Regions from separate parts of the Homo sapiens genome. Here region 1 is linked to region 2. Evidence: promoter capture Hi-C in 16 types of primary human blood cells and fetal thymus (Javierre and others, 2016). All regions are on one chromosome and are shown on one strand. The core of a region is centred on a gene start or on the middle of the fragment in contact, and the rest is flanking DNA. Distances in the headings are between cores, read along the strand shown. Region 1 overlaps CPEB2 (cytoplasmic polyadenylation element binding protein 2). Region 2 holds the start of BST1 (bone marrow stromal cell antigen 1).

Region 1 (5,130 bases), core at 1,898-4,397, 690 kb before region 2:
CATGCCTCAGCCTCCCCAGTAGCTGTGATTACATGCATGCACCACCATACCCGCCTAATTTTTATATTATTAGCAGAGACAGGGTTTCACCATGTTGGCCAGGCTGGTCTCAAACTCCTGATCTCATGTAATCCGCCCGCCTCGGCCTCCAGAGTGCTGGGATTACAGGCTTGAGCCATCATGCCTGGCCAGTATATCTACATGAATTTGCTTAGGGTTATTAATTACTGTACTTTAAAATGTCATTAGCTAGTTACCCTTGCGAGAATCGTACTCAAAAGTTTGAATTCTAAATTATATTACAATGGAATTTGCAGCCAGATCCAGCAATGTGCACTACTTGGAAGGCTGAGGCAGGAGGATTGAATGCCTGAGCCCCAGAGTTGAGTCCAGCCTCGGCAACATAACAAGACACCACCCCCTCTTCCCAAAAAAATAGGAGTTTTCAGTTTAATGTTAAGGTTACGCTATATTTATTCATATGTTTTAAATCAAAGAGTAAATATCCTTTAAGTGAGGTTATTATTACTTACAAGTTTACATATGACATATCAGCTCACTGTAAACAAAGTAATGTCTTGGAACAGTAATTGAGTGTGTGAAGCATGTACGTGCATGTCCGCCTGCCTTCCACCTGGGGAATTATCAATATATCAACTCTCAATTTTTGCTCTTCCACAAGCTCTACTTGCAGTGCTTGAGCATGTCACATAATAAACTACCTTGAATTAATTGAAGATACTTTCCATTAATCTTTAATAGGCTGTTATGATAATGTGGTAAATCATAATTTGGAGATCTGTCTCAGAAAAAATATTATTTGAATCTTTACTCACCTTACACACAAAAAAACAGTATATAGTTGCATACCAAACCCAATTTGTTTATCTGATAAAGCATTTCTTAAATAGTGGTTTGTAAACCAGATGAACTTCAGGGACATTCATAGTCATCAAACTGTTACATGCCCACTGAAAATGGAAAAGAATGGACTCTTGTATTACAGCTTAAGTAATGGATGCCTTCTTTTTGTTTCCTATTCTGTGTTCAGTGCTTTAATTGTTCTTGAAATGTTTTCCACTTGTCTATTTTAATTCTTGTGAGTACTAGAATAGCTTTGGCCTTTTAAAACATTTGTTTATTTTTTTTCTGAGAATGGCTAACACACTTTATTGAGGTTCGAAATTAATAAAGAAAATAAAAGAAATGTATCTTCATTCATTCTGTATGTTAGTGTTTTAATTACCCTTAGAATATATGGATAAAAAATACTATTCTTTGTCTTGGAGAAGGTAAGAGTCTAGTTAGATGAATAAGGGTTATCTATGTAGAACAACTAGAGAATGAGAAGAGAGCTTATGAGATTGAGTACTACGTTATGCAGTAGAGTAGCACGTCATCTGCTACTGAGTATGGTGTGATAACATTGTGTAACAGGAAAGTATGATCAATATCTACTTAAAATTAAGGACAATATTAGCACTACATTGCTTTATTTTAAAGTAAAAATTAGAGAACTAAACACAAGCATTGTAAGTACAATAAAAGCTGATCTTTCTAGTTAAGCAGAATAATACATGTTCAAGCATCTGCTAAATCATTAAATATAAGAATATAGGGGTTTTCTATAATCTTATTTTTCTTTGGAAGAGTACCTCATTTTCAAGAGGAGAAGTTTCTAATTGACCACTTCTTTAAAAATAAAACAGGGTTTTTAATGTATCCCAGCAAAAAAAATTAATATCTCTTCAAAAAGTTCTCTTGTGATTAAGTTTGAATTCCCTTTGTCATACTGCTTCTAATATTGTACACTGACCTCCTTAGTTATTTTTCAGTGTTTATAATCTTTTCTTAGGTTATCTTTTTTCAAGATTTGGATTACTTTGTTCTTTTCTGTGTTTTTCAGCCTTTCTAAGCTTTTATTGATACTCCTGTAAGTGTTTGTGGCAAATGTCTGGGTTTAAGAAAAACCATGAAATAAATATTATAATAAAAGAGGTTATGCCTTTTCCAACAATGTTTTCTAATCATTTTATTCTGTTAGTTATTGTGAGATTCTGTAATCTGTTTCTGAAAGCCCATTTAGTTGATTGTTTGCCAGATAGTTTTTATATTTTAGAATAGATTGCATGCACACTTTTCCTCATAGAGTCTTATATTTCTGAAGTATTTTGGTGCTTTCAAATAACCTTATAGTAATAAATGTAAATTACATTGCTATGATTTTCCATATTTATTAATGATAATTAGTATTGTTGCGTTCATGGTAACTTGAAAATTGCCTTAGTTCTTCTATTTAGTTTTCAAACTGATGGCAGTTTGCATGAACACAATTTTTCCTAATGTCTGTATTTCAGAAGAATGCATGAGTGTTTGTTTTATAACCAGATTTGTTTCTGTTTTTTCAGAAGTCATATTTTAATTCCTGCAATTTATTTAATGGAATTATCAATATCTTTTGCATGTAAGCCTATAGGTTTCATTAAATTCAAAAAGCAATTTTGAGATGTCATGTGCTCTTTGGTTGCTCAAGGCTGTTTTATGTTTGTTGCTTTAAAAATCACATGGGATGCAGCTGATGCTTTACAAAGTACAACCAAGCTAATCATTTTAAAATAGCTTTGCTGTTTTCTTTCCTAGAGTAGGAGTTTAGGATCAAATACTTAACAGAAAAAGGAAAATAAGAGACCTTATAAGTAGGCATCTCACTGATTCAGTTAGATACAGACATTCAAGCTGAAGTTATTAATACATGCAGCCTTTTTGAATAACACCTCTCAAAATTGATTATATAGTGGTCACTGATATTTATAGTTAGTTTAAGGATGTTTCTCTTTCATACTTTAAATATTGTCCATGACCCGAGCAATAATTTTACCATGCTATAGAGCAAGATCACACCTCTTGCAATGAAGGTAGAGGGTACTTTCCCCTACACCTCCAGAAAAAGGAAGTTACTTGGGAAATATTGTTTGGGTGATTTAATAGTTACCATTAATTAAGGTCATCGGTTGACTGGGCATAGGTTGATTCTGTTCAAAGTTAACAACCTAAAAAGATAACCATGAACTGTAATATATTTCCTTTGTGAGGATTTAGGGTAAGGAAGATAATAAAGTATTTTAAAGTATTTACAGTATACTCTTAGAACCTTCATGATATGGCACACCTGCAGAGGGATTTTTTGCTTAATTATATGAACATTAACTTTTATCATTACAGCTTACATTTTATAATTCTATTTTAAATACATCTGGGAACTTTCAGTATTGTGGTACTTAATCTTCCATTGGGTGGTTGGAAATTCAGGTTCATAGCAAGCCACGTTAATCTGATGCTTGTCTCAGTTTAGTCAATTAACATTTGACTACCTGTTCCGTTGAGGATTCTGAGAAAGTTTTATAGTCCTTTACCATTACTATTTAAAAAGTACAGTCTTTCTCCTTACAGAACTCGACTTTTTTTTTACATTTTTTATTGAGTTTTTATGGTAGAGATAAAGAAGTATTCATTCAACAGACATGAGAACTAACTATATTCTGTAATTAGATAGTCCCTATTCTTAATCAACTTAGAAGTTTAGTGGGACAGACAGGAAAATCAACAAATTAGTTATGAACACAGTATAGTGGAAGCACAGGGAAGATGGAAATATCTGGATAGATTCCTAAAATTAATATGTCATTTTTGCCCATATGGGCCATCCTATTCTCTGTTTCAGTTTTATTAATATTTCATTTATTTTAGAGTATTTTGAGTCTTTTTCTTTTCTAGAATTTTTAAAGAGACTATAGGCATCATCTAGTCTGACATGATTATTTTCTAGGAGTTAGAACCAGAGCCTAGAGAGATTTAGTGACTTCAGACGAAGAAACTAATTGCTTCTTATAAAGTGTGATATCCAGACCAGCAGAATCAGTATCACCTGGGAACTTGTTAGAAATACATACTCTCAGGTTCCACTCCAGACCTACTGAATTTGATGTGTTTCAGCAGTCTGTGTGTTTAACCAGCCTTCCAGATGATTCTGAAGCATGTTCAAGTTTAGGAACCACTGTTACAGCTCATTGATTCTTTGTGCCTCCATCACTAATCAAGGTCACTGTTCTAGAGAGCAGCTGTTATTGATGCATGTGTTTTACCTCAGGGGCCTTTCAGTAAAAATCAGTAAAGAGTACTGATAGAGTTAATTGGTGATAAAGCTGGAATAAGAGCCTCCAGTCTAGCATTCCTTCCGTCATTCAGTGTTACTTTTTACCTTTTTAAATCCCTGACAGCAACTTAGTCTACAGTACTGATTCTGAACCCCTAGCTTTAAAAAGGCTACAACCCTAATTTAAACATCAAAGTAAAGTAAATAAATGAACATATTCTTAGAAAAGCTTTTTAGGTTTTTCTTCAGCTTTCTAAAGAACTGATTCTGAATCTTCTCTGGATTGTGGACTCCTGTGGAAAACTGATGAAAGCTATAAACCTTTTCTTCGGGAAAAAAAGAAATTATGTACACACTAGTCCCCCCTTATCCATGAGTGATACGTTCCAAGACAATCAGTGGATGGCTGAAACTGCAAATAGTGCCTTCATATGCTGTTTTTTTCCAATGAAGACATATGATAAGGTTTAATTCATAAATTAGGCACAGTAAGTGATTAACAACAATAATAGTAAAGTAGGACAATTATAACAATGTAATAAAAATTATGTAAATGTGGCATCTCTGTCTCTCAGAATATCTTATTGTATTGTCCTACAGATAACTGAAATCGTGGAAGGCAAAATGCAGAAAGGGGGGACTACTGTACACCTATGAACAGTATATTACATATAATCTCAGAGACTTCTGGTCTCTCTTGAAGCTAATGGACCCAGGTTAATAAGTGCCTTATTTTGATTTCTATGGGGGCTTTTATTTCCACTTAATTTTCAGATTCTTCCTTTCCATTTTCTGTGACAGTCATTTTTTGAGAGTTTAGAATGGACTATCCTGTATCCCCCACGTATACATAAGCTTACACATGCGTGTATACACATATGTAACTGGGTGGGTGAGTATTTTGGGAAGACTCCTAGATTATTTGGAGGGCATGGGCCAGAGCTTCCTCTAGTAGTTCACCACATACCTTTTTTCAG
Region 2 (5,370 bases), core at 437-2,936:
GCTTTCCTCTGGAAAGTGGATTTAACTTAAGGAGGAACTGAACAGGAGAATGCGGGTTTTGGTTACAGAAAAAAAGAGATTCAAATAAAACAGTAGAGAACACCTGTTCTGTCCTCCCTTGTGTTTATCAAGTGCTTGCCAGGCACTCAAAGTTCATTGCTGTCATTATTGTAAGAATTGAGGACTTGGGCCTCCACGTGGTATTCTATTAATACTGGCTCTTTTTTTTTTTTTTTTTGAGACGGAGTCTCACTCTGTTGCCCAGACTGGAGTGCAGTGGCCCGATCTCGGCTCACTGCGAGCTCTGCCTCCTGGGTTCACGCCGTTTTCCCGCCTCAGCCTCCCGAGTAGCTGGGACAACAGGCGCCCGCCACCGCGCCTGGCTAATCTTTTGTATTTTTAGTAGAGACGGGGTTTCACCGTGTTAGCAAGGATGGTCTCGATCTCTTGACCTCGTGATCCACCCGCCTCGGCCTCCCAAAGTGCTGGGATTACAGGTGTGAGCCACCGCGCCCGGCCAATCCTGGCTCTCTTAAACTGAACATCTCCAGGATTTTGCATCTATCAGGAAGGGATATTGTGACCTCTGACAAGTTACAGTCGGCGGTAGGTATCCATGGAGAATTGGTTCCAGGAACCTCCTGGATACCAAAATCCACAGATGCTCAAGGCCCTTATATTAAATGGTGTAGTATACAGTATTTGCACATCCTCTTCTATAATTCACGTCATCTCCAGATTCCTTGTAATATCAAGTACTATGTAATTGTTACATAAGTAGTTGTTACATTGGATTATTTAGGGAATGATGACAAGGAAAAAAAAGTCCGTACATGTTCCGTACAGATGCAAGCATTCTTTTTTTCCTCAAATGTTTCTCATCCGTGGTTAGCTGAATTTGGATGATGAATCCGCAAATCTGGAGGGCCGAACATGCTTAACTTCCCTGAGTTTATCCATTGCTAAAGCGAGAGAAATTACAAACTTAGCTAGGAAGGGTGTTGCGGAAAGTAATTAATATTATACTTGCAAAGTGCTTGGCACGTTGTTGTGGTTATTATTTCCTGAAAACAAACAAACACCACTTATTGGTTGGTGTGAAAGAGGGCATCTGTCAAAGTTGTCGTCCTTTGGAGCCAGAAAAGTATTTCTTCTGATGATGACTGACCTCTCCTCACCTCTCCTTCAACCTTGCGGCTTCTTTGGGGCTCCCTCCCCGTGGACAGCGGTCAAGATTAGCCTGGGCCACAGTGCACTGGTCCTGTCCTGGGTGATGTTCCAAGCTCACTCTTTTTTAATTTTATTTATTTATTAATTTTTTTTTTAGACAGAGTCTCACTCTGTCGCCCAGGGCTGGAGTGCAGTGGTGCAATCACTGCTCGCTGCAGCCTCGATCCCCTGGGGTCAAGCCTCCTCACATCTCACCTCGCAGGTAGCTGAGACTACAGATGCGCACCACCAGGACCAGCTAAGTTTTGTATTTTTTTGTAGAGAGGAGGTTTCTCACCTGTATGTTACTCAGGTTTGTCTCGAACTCCTATACTCAAGCGATCCGCCCGTCTAGGCCTCTCAAAGTGCTGGGATTACAGGCATGAGCCGCCGCGCCCCGCCCCACGCTCAGTCTTGAAATTGTCTGGAACGGGAAACGGCAAACAGCGAGATATCCGAGCGAGAGTCCCGCCCTGCATCAGTTTGCGGAACCGCCTTGGTAGAAGGAGAGAAGGGGAGTGGAGGAAGCACGGGACTGGAGGGACCAAAGTTCCCCGATGGCGGCCCAGGGGTGCGCGGCATCGCGGCTGCTCCAGCTGCTGCTGCAGCTTCTGCTTCTACTGTTGCTGCTGGCGGCGGGCGGGGCGCGCGCGCGGTGGCGCGGGGAGGGCACCAGCGCACACTTGCGGGACATCTTCCTGGGCCGCTGCGCCGAGTACCGCGCACTGCTGAGTCCCGAGCAGCGGTGAGGCAGTCGGCCGGGTGGAAGGGGAGCCGGAAAGAGGCAACGGTGGGGAGGGCCTGGGGAGGGGAAAACTGGCGCTAAAGTTCGGGGTGAGGGGGCAATGAGAGAGGCCTTGAGGGGAGAGGTGAGTGTGGAGACAGCGATGGTCCTGAACGATGGGGGCGAGTGAGGAGGGGGCTGTGAAGTGTGTCTGCAGGTGAGGGGTGCGCTGTGCGGGGTCTAGAGATGAGTGTGTGTGTGTGCGCGCACACACACACTGTAGAGGTGAGGGGTGTGTGCGTGTGTTCTAGAGGTGAGGGGGGTGTGTGTGTGCGCGCGCTCTAGAGGTGGGAGGTGTGTGTGTGCTCTAGAGGTGGATGTGTGTGTGTGTGCTCTAGAGGTGGGGGTGTGTGTGTGTGTGTGTGCTCTAGAGGTGAGGGGTGTGTGTGTGTGTTCTAAAGGTGAGATGTGTGTGTGTGTTCTAGAGGTAAGGGGTGTGTGTGTTCCAGAGGTGAGGTGTCTGTATGTGTGTTCTAGAGGTGAGGGGTGTGTGCATGTGTGTTCTAGAGGTGAAGGGGGTGTGTGTGCGTGCGCTCTAGAGGTGAGGGGTGTGTGTATTCTAGAGGTGAGGGGTGTGTGTGTTCTAGAAGTGAGGGGTGTGTGTGTTCTGGAGGTGAGATGTGTGTGTGTGTGTTCTAGAGGTGAGGGGTGCGTGCATGTGTTCTAGAGGTGTGTGTGTATCTGTGTTCTAGAGGTGAGGGGTGTGTGTGTGTAGTCTAGAGGTGACAGGTGTGTGTGTGTGGTCTATAGGTGAGGGATGTGTGTGTGGTCTAGAGGTGAGGGATGTGTGTGTGGTCTAGAGGTGAGGGGTGTGTGTGTTCTAGAGGTGAGGGGGTGTATGTGTATTCTAGAGCTGAGGAGAGTGTGTGTTCTAGAGATGAGGTGTGTATGTGTGTTCTAGAGGTGAGGGGTGTGTGTGTGTTCTGGAGTTGAGGGGTGTGTGTTCTAGAGGTGAGATGTGTGTGTTCTAGAGATGATGGGTGTGTGTGTTCTAGAAGTGAGAGGTGTGTGTGTTCTAGAGGTAAGGGATGTGTGTGTGTGTGTGTTCTAGAGGTGAGTTGTGTGTGTGTTCTAGAGGTGAGATGTGTGTGTGTTTGTTCTAGAGGTGAGGGGTGTGTGTGTGTAGTCTAGAGGTGACAGGTGTGTGTGTGTGGTCTATAGGTGAGGGATGTGTGTGTGGTCTAGAGGTGAGGGATGTGTGTGTGGTCTAGAGGTGAGAGGTGTGTGTGAGTGTGAAGGAGGGTGGAGAGGTATCCCTCTAGAAGTGAGGGTGGGGTAGAGGTGAACTGGGTAACAGCCCATTGCCACCCAGCAGATGTTTAGTCTGAATACTCAGAACCCAGAATGTGATCTCAGGTTGGAATTCCTTGAGTCCAGTCCTTCCAGAATTCAAATTTCAGATCCCCTAAATCTGGAGGATTTCTGAAGTTTGGGTCTTTCTTGCCAGTGCTGCATTTCTTACTGATTTTTGTTCCTTCTGTGGCCCCCCTTTTCTTATGTTTGTGATGTCTTTCTTGTGCTGATCATTTTTATTGTCGCACATTTCAGGCAAATAAGAAACAGCAGAGAACCACCTGTGTTACACACCACCCAGTATGAGAAACAAAGTTACAAATGCTATGGGAAATATTTTTTGAAAACTAGCATGGACCTCAAGAGGGGCTTGCACTGGAGGGTGCACCTGCTTTGCCAGAGGTGGAAGCCTTTTGCAGCATTGGGCCTCCCTCCTAACACTACACATCCTGCTGGCTGGCCTGGCCTCACCTGGTCCCCGAGCTCCACACTGGAACTGGACTATGAGACTGGCCCCACCGTTAGGTCTAAATGAAGAGGCACCTGCTGTATAGTTGACTGAATTTGTCACCTCCTGCTCGGTGCCATTTCTGCTTGTCTCCGTGAGCCTGGGGCAAGGCTGTATTCCTTAGCTCTGAGAAATCTGTGCAGTGCCTTCAGAGAGACAATTCCAGTGTCAGATTTCTGAATCTGTCACCTAAGCCATGACAATTCGTTGTCTTTTTTGTAAGCCTACTTCTGCAGTTACTATATGAAAAATCTCTTGTAAAGCTCTTAGACAAATGGGCATACTTCACAACACATTATGATGTGCATGTGTGTGTTCTTCCCAACTTGTACTTTTGCACAGGAACAAGAACTGCACAGCCATCTGGGAAGCCTTTAAAGTGGCGCTGGACAAGGATCCCTGCTCCGTGCTGCCCTCAGACTATGACCTTTTTATTAACTTGTCCAGGCACTCTATTCCCAGAGATAAGGTAACACCACAACCATCTTGGGTAAAACTGTGTTCTCTGTCTCTACAGAAATGGATGGTGCATGGGCCAGGTTGACATTAGCTGTCCCCTGCATCCTGCAATGTCACAGAAACATCAGGCAGCACACATAATGTGTGTGCTGAGCTCTCTGTGGGAAGCTAGCTTTGTTTCTGTATTAGTCCGTTGTCACATTGCTATAAAGAAATGCCTGAGACTGGGTAATTTACAAAGAAAAGAGGTTTAACTGGTTCACAGTTCCACAGGCTGTACAGGAAGAATGGCAACATCTACTTCTGGGAGGCCTCTGGGAGCTTTTACTTCAGCAGAAGGCAAAGTGGGAGCAGGTGTCTTACATGGCACGAGCAGGACCAAGGGCAGAGGGAGGTGCCACAGGCTTGTAAACAACTGGATCTTCTGAGAACTCCCTCAGGAGAACAGCAGCAAAGGGGGAAATCCACCCCCATAATCCAATCACCTCACACCAGGCCCCACCTCCAACATAGGGGATTACAATTTTACAAGAGACACAAATCCAAATCATATCAGTTTCCAATAGTGATTGTAGATCTCCCGCTGGTTGTGGGCAGAAGAAAATTTCCTAAGTTAGCAAGTTAGTGTGAGAATCAACATGAGGACATCAGGACATGGCCATACCTGTCACACTGGGCCTCCACATCTGGCCAGTTCTAAATAACCTTCATCCTAACTGGCCCAATGGCCTGAACCTTGAGTAATTCAGAAAACTCTCAATCTCAGTATCCTCCCGGGAGACCAGTCTCTCCATTTAACGGGTCTTAAGATTATATTTATTTAGTACCAGTTTATTTAAGAAAACCACATATCTATATTCTGTATACACTCTCAGGTCTAATAAAATGAAAATAATGAGAAAATTTCCATAAAACCCTTGCTTAAAACAATACCTCAAGTTTAAGGAATGCTAGACACCATTTTTGTTTCTGTGACATAAACATTGTTAACCTGATTTTTTCCATTGTGTGTTATTTGTAAAGGCAAGTAAATGGAACTGTGAGGTTCAAAGATAGAATAGACTGAAAACATGATTTTTGAGTATATGCTGTCTTTTGAACCTTGCTGCCCTCCTGT

Evidence for each region. The method cuts DNA at HindIII sites, captures the fragments that hold promoters and counts their contacts. A CHiCAGO score of 5 or more calls a contact.
Region 1: a contact is called between a fragment that was not itself captured here and the fragment with the promoter of BST1 in region 2, in 1 of 17 cell types (neutrophils). The highest score is 5.4, in neutrophils.

What each region holds. Positions count from the first base shown.
Region 1 is chr4:15,011,210-15,016,339 of GRCh38, forward strand. The region is part of intron 3 of CPEB2 (cytoplasmic polyadenylation element binding protein 2); the gene reads left to right. All of the region lies in intron 3 of C1QTNF7-AS1 (C1QTNF7 antisense RNA 1), which reads right to left. Among named protein-coding and RNA genes, the nearest start is that of CPEB2, 11 kb to the left of the region's middle. The HindIII fragment of the contact is 2,466 bases long and covers 1,915-4,380 here.
Region 2 is chr4:15,701,379-15,706,748 of GRCh38, forward strand. It overlaps BST1 (bone marrow stromal cell antigen 1), which reads left to right and starts at 1,687. Exons shown (of 9, transcript NM_004334.3): 1 at 1,687-1,954; 2 at 4,137-4,263. The coding sequence starts at 1,767. RefSeq lists a silencer at 1,626-1,705. The HindIII fragment of the contact is 13,056 bases long and covers 1-5,370 here.